2 separate regions of the Homo sapiens genome follow, and region 1 is linked to region 2. Evidence: promoter capture Hi-C in 16 types of primary human blood cells and fetal thymus (Javierre and others, 2016). All regions are on one chromosome and are shown on one strand. The core of a region is centred on a gene start or on the middle of the fragment in contact, and the rest is flanking DNA. Distances in the headings are between cores, read along the strand shown. Region 1 holds the start of PPP3R1 (protein phosphatase 3 regulatory subunit B, alpha). Region 2 holds the start of ACTR2 (actin related protein 2).

What was found. Contacts are between HindIII fragments. The CHiCAGO score rates a contact against its expected background, and 5 or more counts as called.
Region 1: a contact is called between a fragment that was not itself captured here and the fragment with the promoter of ACTR2 in region 2, in 1 of 17 cell types (M2 macrophages). The highest score is 5.0, in M2 macrophages.

Annotation. Positions count from the first base shown.
Region 1 is chr2:68,249,204-68,255,344 of GRCh38, forward strand. PPP3R1 (protein phosphatase 3 regulatory subunit B, alpha) reads right to left here and starts at 3,329. Exons shown (of 6, transcript NM_000945.4): 1 at 2,922-3,329. The coding sequence starts at 2,924. It overlaps PPP3R1-AS1 (PPP3R1 and CNRIP1 antisense RNA 1), which reads left to right and starts at 2,400. Exons shown (of 2, transcript XR_001739527.2): 1 at 2,400-2,531. RefSeq lists silencers at 2,649-2,758, 2,939-2,988, 3,249-3,688 and an enhancer at 3,779-4,448. The HindIII fragment of the contact is 8,076 bases long and covers 1-5,323 here.
Region 2 is chr2:65,225,329-65,231,390 of GRCh38, forward strand. It overlaps ACTR2 (actin related protein 2), which reads left to right and starts at 2,503. Exons shown (of 9, transcript NM_005722.4): 1 at 2,503-2,629. The coding sequence starts at 2,582. It overlaps LOC124907779 (a long non-coding RNA gene), which reads right to left and starts at 2,271. Exons shown (of 2, transcript XR_007086461.1): 1 at 2,153-2,271. RefSeq lists enhancers at 1,494-2,383, 2,384-3,272, 3,345-3,434 and a silencer at 2,655-2,844. The HindIII fragment of the contact is 6,982 bases long and covers 27-6,062 here.

The DNA of each region.
Region 1 (6,141 bases), core at 36-2,535, 3.0 Mb after region 2:
AACCATTTTAATTTTCTCATTCACTATGGGACAAAATGAGTGGATAAATTTTCTCAGGACAGATGTGAATTTTAATTCCGCTGGTCATAAGACAGGTTTTTTTTTTTCTAAAAAGTGGCCTTTGCCACAGAATCTGAACTAGAATATGTTGTGTAAAACTCTACATACAGTTATAGACGGCAATAAATTTGTTTTAAGTTCTAGATGCAGATCATGGAGATAAAAAAAAATTTAAAAGTTTAAAAGCACAAAGACATGAAAAGGCCTTTATAAAATTTAAAGTTCCCTTAAGAAACAAAACGTAAAACAATTACCTTTATATTATGTTCATTTAAGTATCCAGAACAAAATCCGTATTATCTATTTCAACAAAAACATATATAAAACACCTCGTTCAGGGGAAATTCCTAGGAGCTCACTATTTACAAGATTTTTTTTTTTAACATATAACCTTCATTCTCCCTGGACGCTTAACAATTTAAAACTCAAATAAGGGTGAAGGGAGGGAAAGACTTTAACTTTCAGGAAAAAAAAAAATAAACTACGTTTAAGGCACCAACTAAAATTAATACCTGTCAGAAAAGATCCTTGAGAGTACATTTAAATCTTATAAGCCTTTTTACTTTCCATACTTGAATTAACTAGTGATATTTCATACTGTAAATGCTGTTGACAGAATGTAAATAATAAGAGTTCTAAGAGAGATTTTCCAAAGGGTGTGAAAGTTTTCAGAATTGTATGTTCAATTAACCAGAAAAATTAACCAGATCACTCCAAAGCCTGATTTATTTGGGTTAATCGACATCCCATATGGCAAAGTTGAGTTATGGGTATGGTCTTGATACTTTCAAACCAGTACTGTATTCAGCAGACCAAAATAACCCTAAAGTTGGAAAGCCACTGCCAACATTATGTAGGTCCTGAAATGGTATTGGGAGGATGAAAGAGGAAAAAAAAAAACCCAACAGTTGAATTAGGAAATAAATACTGAAAAGGGAGCTGGGAAGAAAAGGAACATAATGACCTGGCAGGAAACAACATCGTCTGATACACCGTAAAATATTTTAAAAGACAAGAAAACAGAGTTAACAGGAAAATAAGAAATTGAAGAGCTAAAAGAGAACTTCCCAGTTTCAGTCTGTTGTTCAAAAAACAGAGGACGGGGTGCACCGCAAGAGAGTTACTATTTGGAAACCATACCACTTCGCTGTATAATATATAAACAACAAAAGGCTAGATCATTGTTCCTCAAATGTGCTGTTTATAAAGCTAAGTAAAAACATTCCCTGCAATGAACAAAGATCTTCAAGATCCTGACCTTCAAGTAAAGCATGTGCATAAGGAAATTCTATTAAAGCACTGAAATGCAATTCTTCACTTCAAAAGACTATGCCAACAAAAAGATTATATGATGAATGGCTATGATCTTCCTAAATTGTTTTGTGACTTTCAGGTGCCAAAGTTGCCTCTCTGAGCTGCCTCGCAAGTTGGCAAGGAAAAACTTTCTCTACACATCAAAATCGGCAATCATTTAAGTCTGCTCTTAATCTGGGTTTTAAGTGCACCAGTAAGCACTTACTCATTTGCCCTATATTTTAAATAAAAGCTGACTTACCTGAATATTCTAATTTCACGTTCTTCCCTTAAAATCGATTTCACCAAATCGATTTTAAGTTGTAAGCAACAGCATTCCTCCCTTCAGTAATCCACCACGTACACTGAAGCACTTAAATTCTACATACAGGGTGGGATACCATACAGTGGAAAAGATGCGAGAAATTACCCACCGTCAACCAGTTTAAGTCTTCTGACAACTGTTCAAAGACTTTTAGAGAAAGCCTAATAACTGAATCGCATGATGGAGTATCTGATATACGCGGAATAGCACTCTGAACTTTCTCTACTGTGTATACAACTCTTGATTACAAAGAGGAAACTAACGACTAGGGCTTCCCCGAGCGAGAGAACCGGTAAGGTAACAGGCTAAAAGGGCGTCGTTGATTTCTTGGCTGCAGCGACAGAGGCGGGAGACACACCCCTAGCGTCGGTCTGAAACACTACAGCAGCGAATTCTACCTAGGGATTAATGTGAGGGTAAGGAAAGACAAATTAAAATCGCCATGATTCAAAAACAACCACTCCAAGAGAGAGACACAAGAAGGTACCAAAGAAAATGAAAAAACCCTTGGTAGTAACGGAAGCATGAAAAATTAAGCGCCCCCATTTCTCCCAAACCAAGTTCGCGTATGTTTTCGTGAACAAACACCTTGGATCTTTCCGGTTCGCCAGGGCAGCGAGCAAAGCAGCAGCGAACGGAAACCCCGCAGGGCTGCGCACCGCAGCTAAACCGACGCTCGCAGGAGAGGGGAAGTGAGTGGCAGGGTTCCCTGCCAAGACTCACTGCTGGGAAACAGGCAGTGAGTGGAAGCAGCAGCAGCTCTGGAGAGTAAGTGGGTCTTATGTAAAGTGCCATTTGCCACATATTGTTATTTCCAAAGGATTTCAGAATACCCTCGAACTCGAAAAACAGAGTGAGTGTGGAGGGGAGGGGGGTGCTCCACGTGGAGGAGGGTCGCGAGAAGGAGAGTGCGCCGGGCTGATGGTCAGCGGTGCCCGCGGGGGTCGATGCCGGGCGGGACCGGCGGCGCGGGGGTGGGGCGACGGCGGGGCGGCGGCCGAGCAGCAGAGGGGCGCCCCGCAGAGGCCGGGGGCGGGCGCGGGGGCCCCGCCGCCGTCCTGTCAGCAGCCGCCCCGCCGCCCTCTCCGGCTCGCCCGCAACCGCCGCGGGACCCGCCGGGCCCGGGTCTCTGGAATTTTCCACGGGGGACAGCCGACCGGGGGCGTCGGGGCTCGCCCCCGCACCCGACCCGGACGGCGGCAGTAGGGGGAGGGATGGTGCATCGAGGAAGCCAAGGTCTCACCATTTTGCTCGGCGGGTCGGCGGCTCGCTGGCTCGCTGGCTCGGAGAAGTGTTGCGCTCAGGCTGGCTCGCAGGAAACGGCGGCGGCGGCCCAGCTGCGGCCCTCGGGTCGCCGGCGGGGAGGGGGCGCGCGTGGGGGAGGGGAGGCGGCGCCGCGGGGCCCGCGCCGGCCGGGCGATTGGGCACGCGAGGGAGCGGGCAGGGTAGGGGGAAATAAATTAAGGTCGAGATTCAGAGCCGGAGAGCGCGGGAGGAGCAGCGGCGAGAGGCAGGAGAGGCAGAGAAGAAGAAAGGAGGGGGAGAGGGGGCGAAGACGGCCGGGAAACTCGGGGGCTGCAGCCTCGCGCTCGCGCCGGAGCCGTGACGGACTCACTGCAGCGGCTCGCGCTGACCCGCAACCTCAAGGCACGAAAAAAGGGGAGGGCGGAGAGGGAGGGGAAAGCGGAGTGCTGCAGCGCGCGGGGCGGGGGCGGGGCTTCCGCGAGCGCCGCACATCCGGGAACCTGCGCGCCCCGCTGGGCGGCGAGTGCCGCGGCGCTCTGGCGAGCTCTGGTTGGGGAACGCTGAGCGCGCGGACCACGTTCGCCCCTCAGCCGGCCGCCCCTTGCGTGCAGGGTGGGGGGAGGCCAGGGGCGGGGGCGCGGACGTCGGTGACGTCGCGTGGCGGAGCCCTTCCGGTCATGTGGCTGGAGGCGGGCGGGGAAGAAGGCAAGGCTGGGAGGGGAAGGAGGAAATGCGAGGGTTCCCCGGCGGGAGGAAGCGCGAGGGGTGCGCGAGTGCTAGCGAAAGGGGGACAGGGGCCCTGGAGTGGAAGCCTTGCGGGAGAGGAGGAGCAGAGGAGCAGTCTTAGGGTGTCAGAACCACCCGGATGCCGCACCAAAAAACAGGAAAAATCCAAGTCCTGCGAGAGGCAGTCAAAGGTATCTGTGCATCCGTGTACCGACTTGGATCCACTACAGAATTGCACGGCCCATCAGGACTGCTGTCACCCCGGTGCAGCACCCGCAGGCCCATCTGTAATATGAATTGGCAGAGTCAGGAACCAGGTTGCAAAGACAGAGAAGCGAGCCAAAGCTGGCCGCAGCCCGAGGCGTGGGGAGAACCTGGGCAAACGAGGAGAAGGGATACTTCCCACTCGCAGAAAGACTTTCCACCCAGCTCTGCATTCCCATAAACCGTCCAGACTCCCCTTTGGCGGAGTCCATCAGTTTTTGTTTAAAAAAAGAAAAAAACTCGAATGTAGATTGCCCGCTTATCCTTTTAGTAGAGCTATATCCACTCCTGTGGCAATTATCTTCCCAGAAAATTCAGATTACAATAGGAAATTACATCCAGAAAAGCATAAGGAGGAAATTTATGTTCGAGAGAAGAAATAAAGCTGTCAGGAGAGGTGTGATGAGGATAACGAAGAAAACATTTTGCAACTATTTTAACCAGTTATTCCTTTACAAGCCTTGATAATCGCCCGCACTCGTGTGTGTTTGAGAGTGTGTGTGTGTGTGTGTGTGTGTGTGAGAGAGAGAGAGAGGATGTTTTCTGAGTGATCGGAAACTCCTTATTGATAAAGCCTTTGAGTCATTTTATAAAAAGCCATTGTGTTGTTTTTTTTTAAAAAAGTCTTAATGATCCTTACATGAGAACTTTATTCTTTTTATGTGCTAATTATTTTTCCATATGATGAGCATGCATTTTTTTCTAATAAACGCTCAGCGATTTGCCCTAGGACTAAATGGTTCCTGTCTCTCTTTCTCTCTGTCTTTCTCTCTCTGTCAATCCCCCCCTCCCCGCCCCTCCATCCCTCCCCTTCCCCCTTCAGGAGCTACTTTGCTTCTGTGTCAGGATGAATAAGGAAAAGAACTTAGACATAACAAGCTGTGTCACACAGTGAATGTATCAAGGAAAGGCCAAGAAGGGACACTTTCTTCCACAAGTTTCTTGATTTAAATATGTTGCTATTTGATACTAACATATTACAGAACAAGAAAAAGTCCCTAGGGTATATGTGTAACGTTTTCTAGGTATACTATTTAAAATTAGTTTTTTATCATAAAAAGACGTGCTTTTTAAGAAAAAGTACTGTATGCAAAATTCTTCCTCTCTCCACTTACCAGAGGTAATCATGCTAACTGCATTTGTTTGTGTCCCTTGGACATTTTCAGTGAAAATCAAATTATTTTAACTAAGGGGTATGCACTAAGAAGGAATTCGAGCTATTTGGAATACAGTGGATTTAAAATAACCCATAATTTTGTTGTGTTGGAGGCAATTTATACTAGTCTGAATTCAGTAAGATAAGTAAATCCAAAATGCACCTTTAATAGGTTTTTCATCAAAAGGCTGAGGGGAAAAGTATGGTAAGTAGTCATTCTCCTTTTTGTCTCTTTCCATTAAATTTTGATGTAAAGCTTAGTGTGAGTGGGAACAGGTACCAAACAGTCCTGCAGAAGCATATGTGTTTTTAAAAATGTATGTACCAAATAGCCCTGCTAAAGGCATACATGTTTTTAAATAACTAGATAAATGAAGAGGTAATGGACATATCTTTGTGGCTTATTTTTCCTAGAAAATTTAACAAGCTCTTAGATGATTATCAGAAAGAATTATGTCAGATAAATTGAAGGGAGAAACACTTAAGACAGGGATGCCAGTTACAAGAATTAGTAACAGGTAGGCATGAGGTGATAAGGGATACCAATGGCAGAGGAAAGGAAAGGCGAGTATGAACAACATGAAGCAAAAATGGACTGACTATGCAACATAGTGGATGTGTGGAACAGAGAGGGAGAAATAAAAGGTGACCAGTTTTCGTTTTGATGACAGGAAATAGTGTTAACATTAAGAGAAATGGAGAGGTCCAAAGTTTGGCTATTGAGTGAGAAGAGATGAGTTTAGATTTAAAGATGCAAAGTTTTAGTTGCTGATGAGCTATCCCAGTGGAAGCACCCAAATAGAAGCTGAAAGTGCAGGTTAGAAAGGAATAGAGATATGGGAATCAATTTTAAAAAGGATTAAAATGAAATCTTCAAATTTTTCCTTATTTAATTAGTGATAGGAGAAGGAAAAGACCCAGAAATGATAATAAAGCTGCTAGGTAGAAAATTAAAGGAAAAGAAGGTTTTAAGAAAGAGAGAGTAGACCGGGCAAAGTGGCTCACGCCTGTAATCCCAGCACTTTGGGAGGCCAAGGTGAGTGGATCACCTGAGGTCAGGAGTTCAAGATCA
Region 2 (6,062 bases), core at 1,253-3,752:
TTTTTTGTTTCAATACATGAACTAAAAGCTTTAAATTTCTATTATGTCAACTATCAATTTTTTCTTTTATAGATCACGATTTTAGCGTCATATCTAAGCAAACTTTGCTTAACTTAATATCAAAAGATTTTCCTCTTTTTCTTCTGAAATTTATAGTTTTAGCTTTTATATTTAGGTCTATGATCCACTTAAATCAATTTTTATGTGTGATGTGAGGTAAGAATCAAAGTTCTTTTTTTTCCCTCCCACATCATTCATTGAAAAGATTACCCTTTCCCCATGGATTGTTTTAGCACCATTGTTGAAAATCAACTGACCATAATGTAAAGGTTTATTTGTGGACTATTTGATTCCATTGATCGATATATCTGCCTCTATGCCAGTATTACAGTCTTCATTACTGTAGCTTTATAATAAGTTTTGAATTCAGGTAGTGGAAGTTCTCCATCTTTTTCTGTTTCGAAATCCTTTTATTCTGGTTCCTTTTCATTTCATATAAATTTTAGGGCCAAACTTGCCAATTTTTTTTTTTTTTTTTTGAGACAGAGTCTTGCTCTCACCAGGCTGGAGTGCAGTGGCACGATCTCTGTCACTGCAACCTCTGCTTCCCGGGTTCAAGCGATTCTCCTGCCTCAGCTTCCTGAGTGGCTGGGATTACAGGCGCGTGCCAACACGCCCAGCTAATTTTTGTATTTTTAGTAGAGACGGGGTTTTGCCATGTTGGTCAGCCTTGTCTTGAACTCCTGATCTCAGGTGATTTGCCCTCCTTGGCCTCCCCAAGTGCTGGGATTACAGGCGTGAGCCACCGCGCCCGGAATAATGTTCTTTCTTTAAAAATACAAATTAGCAATCCCCTTAATTCCACAAAGAGGAAAAGTAAAAGAACACAGAAATGCTTGAGTTCAATTTGCTGAGACCAATAAAATGCACTTTCAAGAAAACTGCACAGCACTAGCATTGGAGGCCACAAAAATAAGATACGGACTCTATACTCAAGGAATTTATGAACAAATAAATTTTTCTGCTGGCTGAGGTACTTCTCTGACTGTTAAAGCAGGTAAAACGAAGAAATGTTCCTCCGAGACTTCCTACCTATTCTAACCTCTCAAACTTCTAATTGCAACAATGGCAGCTTTATTTTTATCTTAATATTTATGTGTTGAGGGTTCCATATAAGATTAGATTTGAATAAAGCACTGTATGCCTTTAAAAAGGTTTGAAAATCACTGGTCTAATAAAAGAACAGTGAAAACTGACAGGCAGCTATATTATAAAAAGAATACTGGATTGAGGGTTCATGATGACTGTTTTATTCTAGTTGTTGAACATGTACAGCCATGTCGAAGGAAAAGTTCTATTTCTCACCTCTCATAAAGGATGGCATTTTAAAGGTGAATTTTAATGTCATTCATCTAATAAATATTTGTTGCATGCAATAAGCACAATGTTATTCATATATTCATAGTAAAGTAATAGGGAGAAAGGAAGTACGGAATATCCTGAGGATATCAGCTGTCATCAGAGATGTAACAAGCTGGGTCTCAGAGCACAAGTTTGCCAATTGATTAAAAAGGAAAAAAAATGAGGCATCGTAGATAGAATCATAGGTCCAGAAGAACAGAATTAGAAATAGCTACCACTGAATGAACATTTCCTCCATGCATAGACTTTTATCCTCACCACACCTATGGAGATAGAAGTTATTATCCCCATGCAGACAGGGGTATGCCAAAATCACAAAACTCGTGAGTGGCAGCGCCACGTTTGAAACTGGGGTTGTCTGATTTCAAAGCCAAGGCTCTGGGTTCACAGAAGTACATGTACTTAAGAGGTGTGAAGCAACATGGGACTACTGGAAGGAGGCGGTGAGCCACGAGGCTGGAAATGCAGGCACCTGCTCTCGCTCACTTGACCATAGAGCAACTTGGGCAAAGAAGGGGTGGGCTGACATTGGAGTATGGAACAAACGCATGATTTCAAATAAGCATGTGTGTATCCATCCCAGTTCTGTCCGCTGAAAAGGCCTAGAAGCAATAACACACCAAGCCCTGTCGAATGGTGGGGTCCGCCAGGACCTCCAGGCTTGCTCCCCGCCCTACCCGCCAGCTTCTCCGCCACATTCCACTGCCGCAGCAGAACCGGTGTCCTTCACCTGCCTGCGTCTTCTGCAGTTCGTTAAGCAGCGCCCTTAGCTCCTGTGACACTTTAGGGAGAAAGCCGCAGCACCGGCGATGTTGGCCGCCATTAACGCCCGGCAAAGCGCCCGGAACTAGAAGCAGCGAAGAACCCGGGTGGGCAGCGACCGTGACAGCCGAGCCGGAAGCGGAGCTGCGGGAGGGGCCTCGACGCTCCTCCATCTTTTATTGGAGCTCACCGCTGCCAGTCGCGCTGCCTGCCCGTCCCACCCTTTTCGTGCAGGCATTCAGCTAAATGACGGGCGGAGCCCGGCGGCGGCTTCCGGTCGGGGGAAAAAAGTTGGGCCGAAGGAGGGGCCGGGAAGACGCAAGAGGAAGAAGAGAAAACGGCCGGGCGGCGGTGGCTGTAGGTTGTGCGGCTGCAGCGGCTCTTCCCTGGGCGGACGATGGACAGCCAGGGCAGGAAGGTGGTGGTGTGCGACAACGGCACCGGGGTAAGGGCCGCGCGAGGAGGCCTTGGCGGCCACAGACGCCGGCGGGGACGAGCAGCTGGCGCACGGGCCCTCGGCCCCCAGGGCTGCACCTCCGGGCCCTCGGGGCGAAGGGGCGCGGGGCGGTGCCTCCCACCTCCGCGGGCGTGGGAGCGAGCCGGCCGTTCCCTGGTCTCCCTTGAGCCTGCCACCCATTTAGCCTGCCACCCCCTCACCCTTCCGGGTGGGGGCGGCGGGCGAGACCGGCACTGGACATGGAGCCTACTGACCGCCCGGCAGGGACCTGCTCCGCGCTAATGCGGGGGCAATTGGGCTAAAGCGGACGGAAGCGTAAAAGGCTCGGTTTGTGTGTTCCGAGAAGGGCTCTTTTCCCCAGGGCCACCGGTTTGTAAAAAGGAGAAAGACCTAGAGGCCTTCCTCTTCCTGTATAGTTGAAGATACACCAAACGAGAAGCAGGAAGCGGGTTTACTTAAAAAAAAAAAAAAAAAAAGGGAAGTGCTGTCATGGAGTGTGGACCTCAGCCCTTTCGCTGTGTTTGTTGGGCTTTTTATTAGTTTTTTCGAGGGAAGGGGTCCAGATCGGCAGCGCATCGTTCACTTTTTGTTTTACATACTAGTATTTGGCCCAGGAGTAGGCCCACGGAGACCAGCATGTTCCATTGAGTGGTTTTGGGTGACCTAGGATCCCGCAAGACTCAAGTGTTAATTCCACTAGCCTTAGGGGAAGTTAATTAGTGTTGATTATCCCACCCCCAGCCCCCTTTTTTCCCTTCGTTTCAGTATACAGGTAATGTTAGCCTTTAAGATTCAAAAATTGTAAAATCTGACTAAAGCACTGATTTAGAAACTATTTGAAAATTGTTTCTGTAATCCCAGCACTTTGGGAGGCCCAGGCGGGCAGATCACCAGAGGTTAGGAGTTCGAGACCAGCCCAGCCAACGTGGTGAAACCCCGGTCTCTACTAAAAATACAAAAATTAGCCGGCCGTGGTGGTGCTTGCCTGTAATCCCAGCTACTTGGGAGGCTGAGGCAGGAGAATCCCTTGAAGCCAGGAAGCGGAGGTTGCAGTGAGCCGAGATTGCGCCACTGCACTCCAGCCTGGGCGACAAGAGTGAAACTCCGTCTCAATTATAAAAAAAAAAAATTGTTTCATTCAGACCTCCCTCTTGCCAGATTAAAAAAAAATGTATTTTGGGTAGCAAAGTCAGCAAATTAGAAGATGGAAATATTATTTATTCTGGATGACTTCTATAGTGATTTCTAACCATTTTGATGTTGCAACATTTTGTGAGTTTTCTCCCCTCCCTCCCATAAATATGATGTATGAATTAAAGTTCATTTTACTTGAACAAAACACTTTGGAATCTGAATTGTTGAGGGGGAAAAGAGCTGGTATTTACTGCCATAATACTGCCCTTGATTAGATTTGTTACACAATTTTACAAGCAATAATTATGGTAGCTTCATCTGAACTGTGTTAAAAATGGACTAGAGTAAAAAGAGTGTTAACGTACATTGAGGCCAGGCGCGGTGGCTCATGCCTGTAATCCCAGCACTTTGGGAGGTCTAGGCGGGCGGATCACCTGAAGTCAGGAGTTTGAGACCAGGCTGGCCAACATAGTGAAACCCCGTCTCTACTAAAAATACAAAAATTAGCCGGGCATGGTGGTGGGCGTCTGTAATCCCAGCTACTCGGTAGGCTGAGGCAGGAGAATCGCTTGAACCCGGTAGGCGGAGGTTGCAGTGAGCCGAGATCGCACCACTCCAGCCTGGGCGACAGAGCAAGACTCCGTCTCAAAAAAAAAAAAAAAAAAAAAGAAAAACAAAACATATTAATGTGACGGTTTTTAAGAATGTAATATTTTTAAAAAGGCAGATCCACTGCTATGGAAACGTCTAAGATTTTAAGTTGAAAAAGGTTTTAGAATGATTCAGTTTAAGTGTGTGTTCCTTATTAAAGATGTATGTCCACAAACTTGTATCCGCATATGAAAGTTTTGGAGGGATACATAAGAAATGTTCATAATGGTTACCTATGAGACAGAGGATAAGGGAGTGAGGGAAGATGGAGAGGACTTCATGACCTTTCTGAATTATTGGAAAAATGTTCTTTATTTGAACAAAGCAAGTATTATTAAACTATATTTAAACTAAATTAACCATAAACGCATGTTACATGTGCGGCTAAAATTCAGTTAAATGTGCTTTTTAAAAAAGTATTAGCCTGATTTCCACTATAGTTTCAAATTGGCCTCTAAATAAATAAAAAACTTTAAAAATTGAATTTAAAATTTTTTGTTTTGTGATTGTGTCAGATACTCTTTTTAGAAAGTCAAGCCAGTTATATTTTAATGAATTCTTTTAGGGGTTCAAGGTAATGAGCCCTGTATTTGTAGTATATATGAGTTTTTAAATATTAAATTAGAATGGGAATGTTAACCGAAGCTGATTTTTTTTTTTTTTTTTTTTTTTTTGGACACAGGATCTAGCTCTGTTGCCCAGGCTGGAGAGCGATGGCGTGATCTCGGCTCTCTGCAACCTCTGCCTCCTGGGCTCAAGCGGTTCTCCTGCTTCAGCCTCCCGAGTAGCTGGGACTACAGGCTTGTGCCACCACACCCAGTTAATTTTTTTATTTTTGTAGAGACTGGGTCTCCCTATGTTACCCAGGCTGGTCTTGAACTCCTGGGGTTAAAAGATCTGCCCACTGCGGCCTCCTAAAGTGCTAGGATTACAGGCTTGAGCCACTGCACCCTGCTGTCAGAAGCTAATGTTATGTTACTATTCCATTAGTTAGCTAACATTAGAAGGCTGATTTTAGGCTGGGCGTTGTGGCTCATGCCTGTAATCCCAGCACTTTGGGAGGCCGAGGTAGGAGGTTCACTTGAGGTCAGGAGTTTGAGACCAGCATGGCCATCATGGTGAAACCCCGTGTCTACTAAAAATACAAAAATTAGCCGGGTGTGGTTTCTGATGCCTGAAATCCCAGCTACTTGGGAGGCTGAGGCAGGAGAATTACTTGTACCTGGGAGGCAGAGGTTGCAGTGAGCCAAGATCACGCCACTGCACTCCAGCCTGGGCGACAGAGTGAGACTGTCACAAAAAAAAAAAAAAGCTGATTGTAGTATGTTATTGATTAGTCTTGTGTCTAATCCATGTTTTTAAGATTCTTTTCCTTAAGACAAGTGATCAATTCCTGTCATAAATGAAAAAAGTGAGTGTAATTAATTCAAATAAAATTTATCTGTTCTTATGCTTCTAGTTATTTTAAAATTTTATGCAGATTTTCTATGGACATGATTGGTTTCAAATGAAGAAACAGTGCTGTTAAAATACATGAATCATATAACAGGAATGCTGTAATAGTTCTGAGTATGTAGAGGACTAGGAACCGCTTAGATTGTGTATTCTGTTTCTTACCATTTGTAGACATGAATAA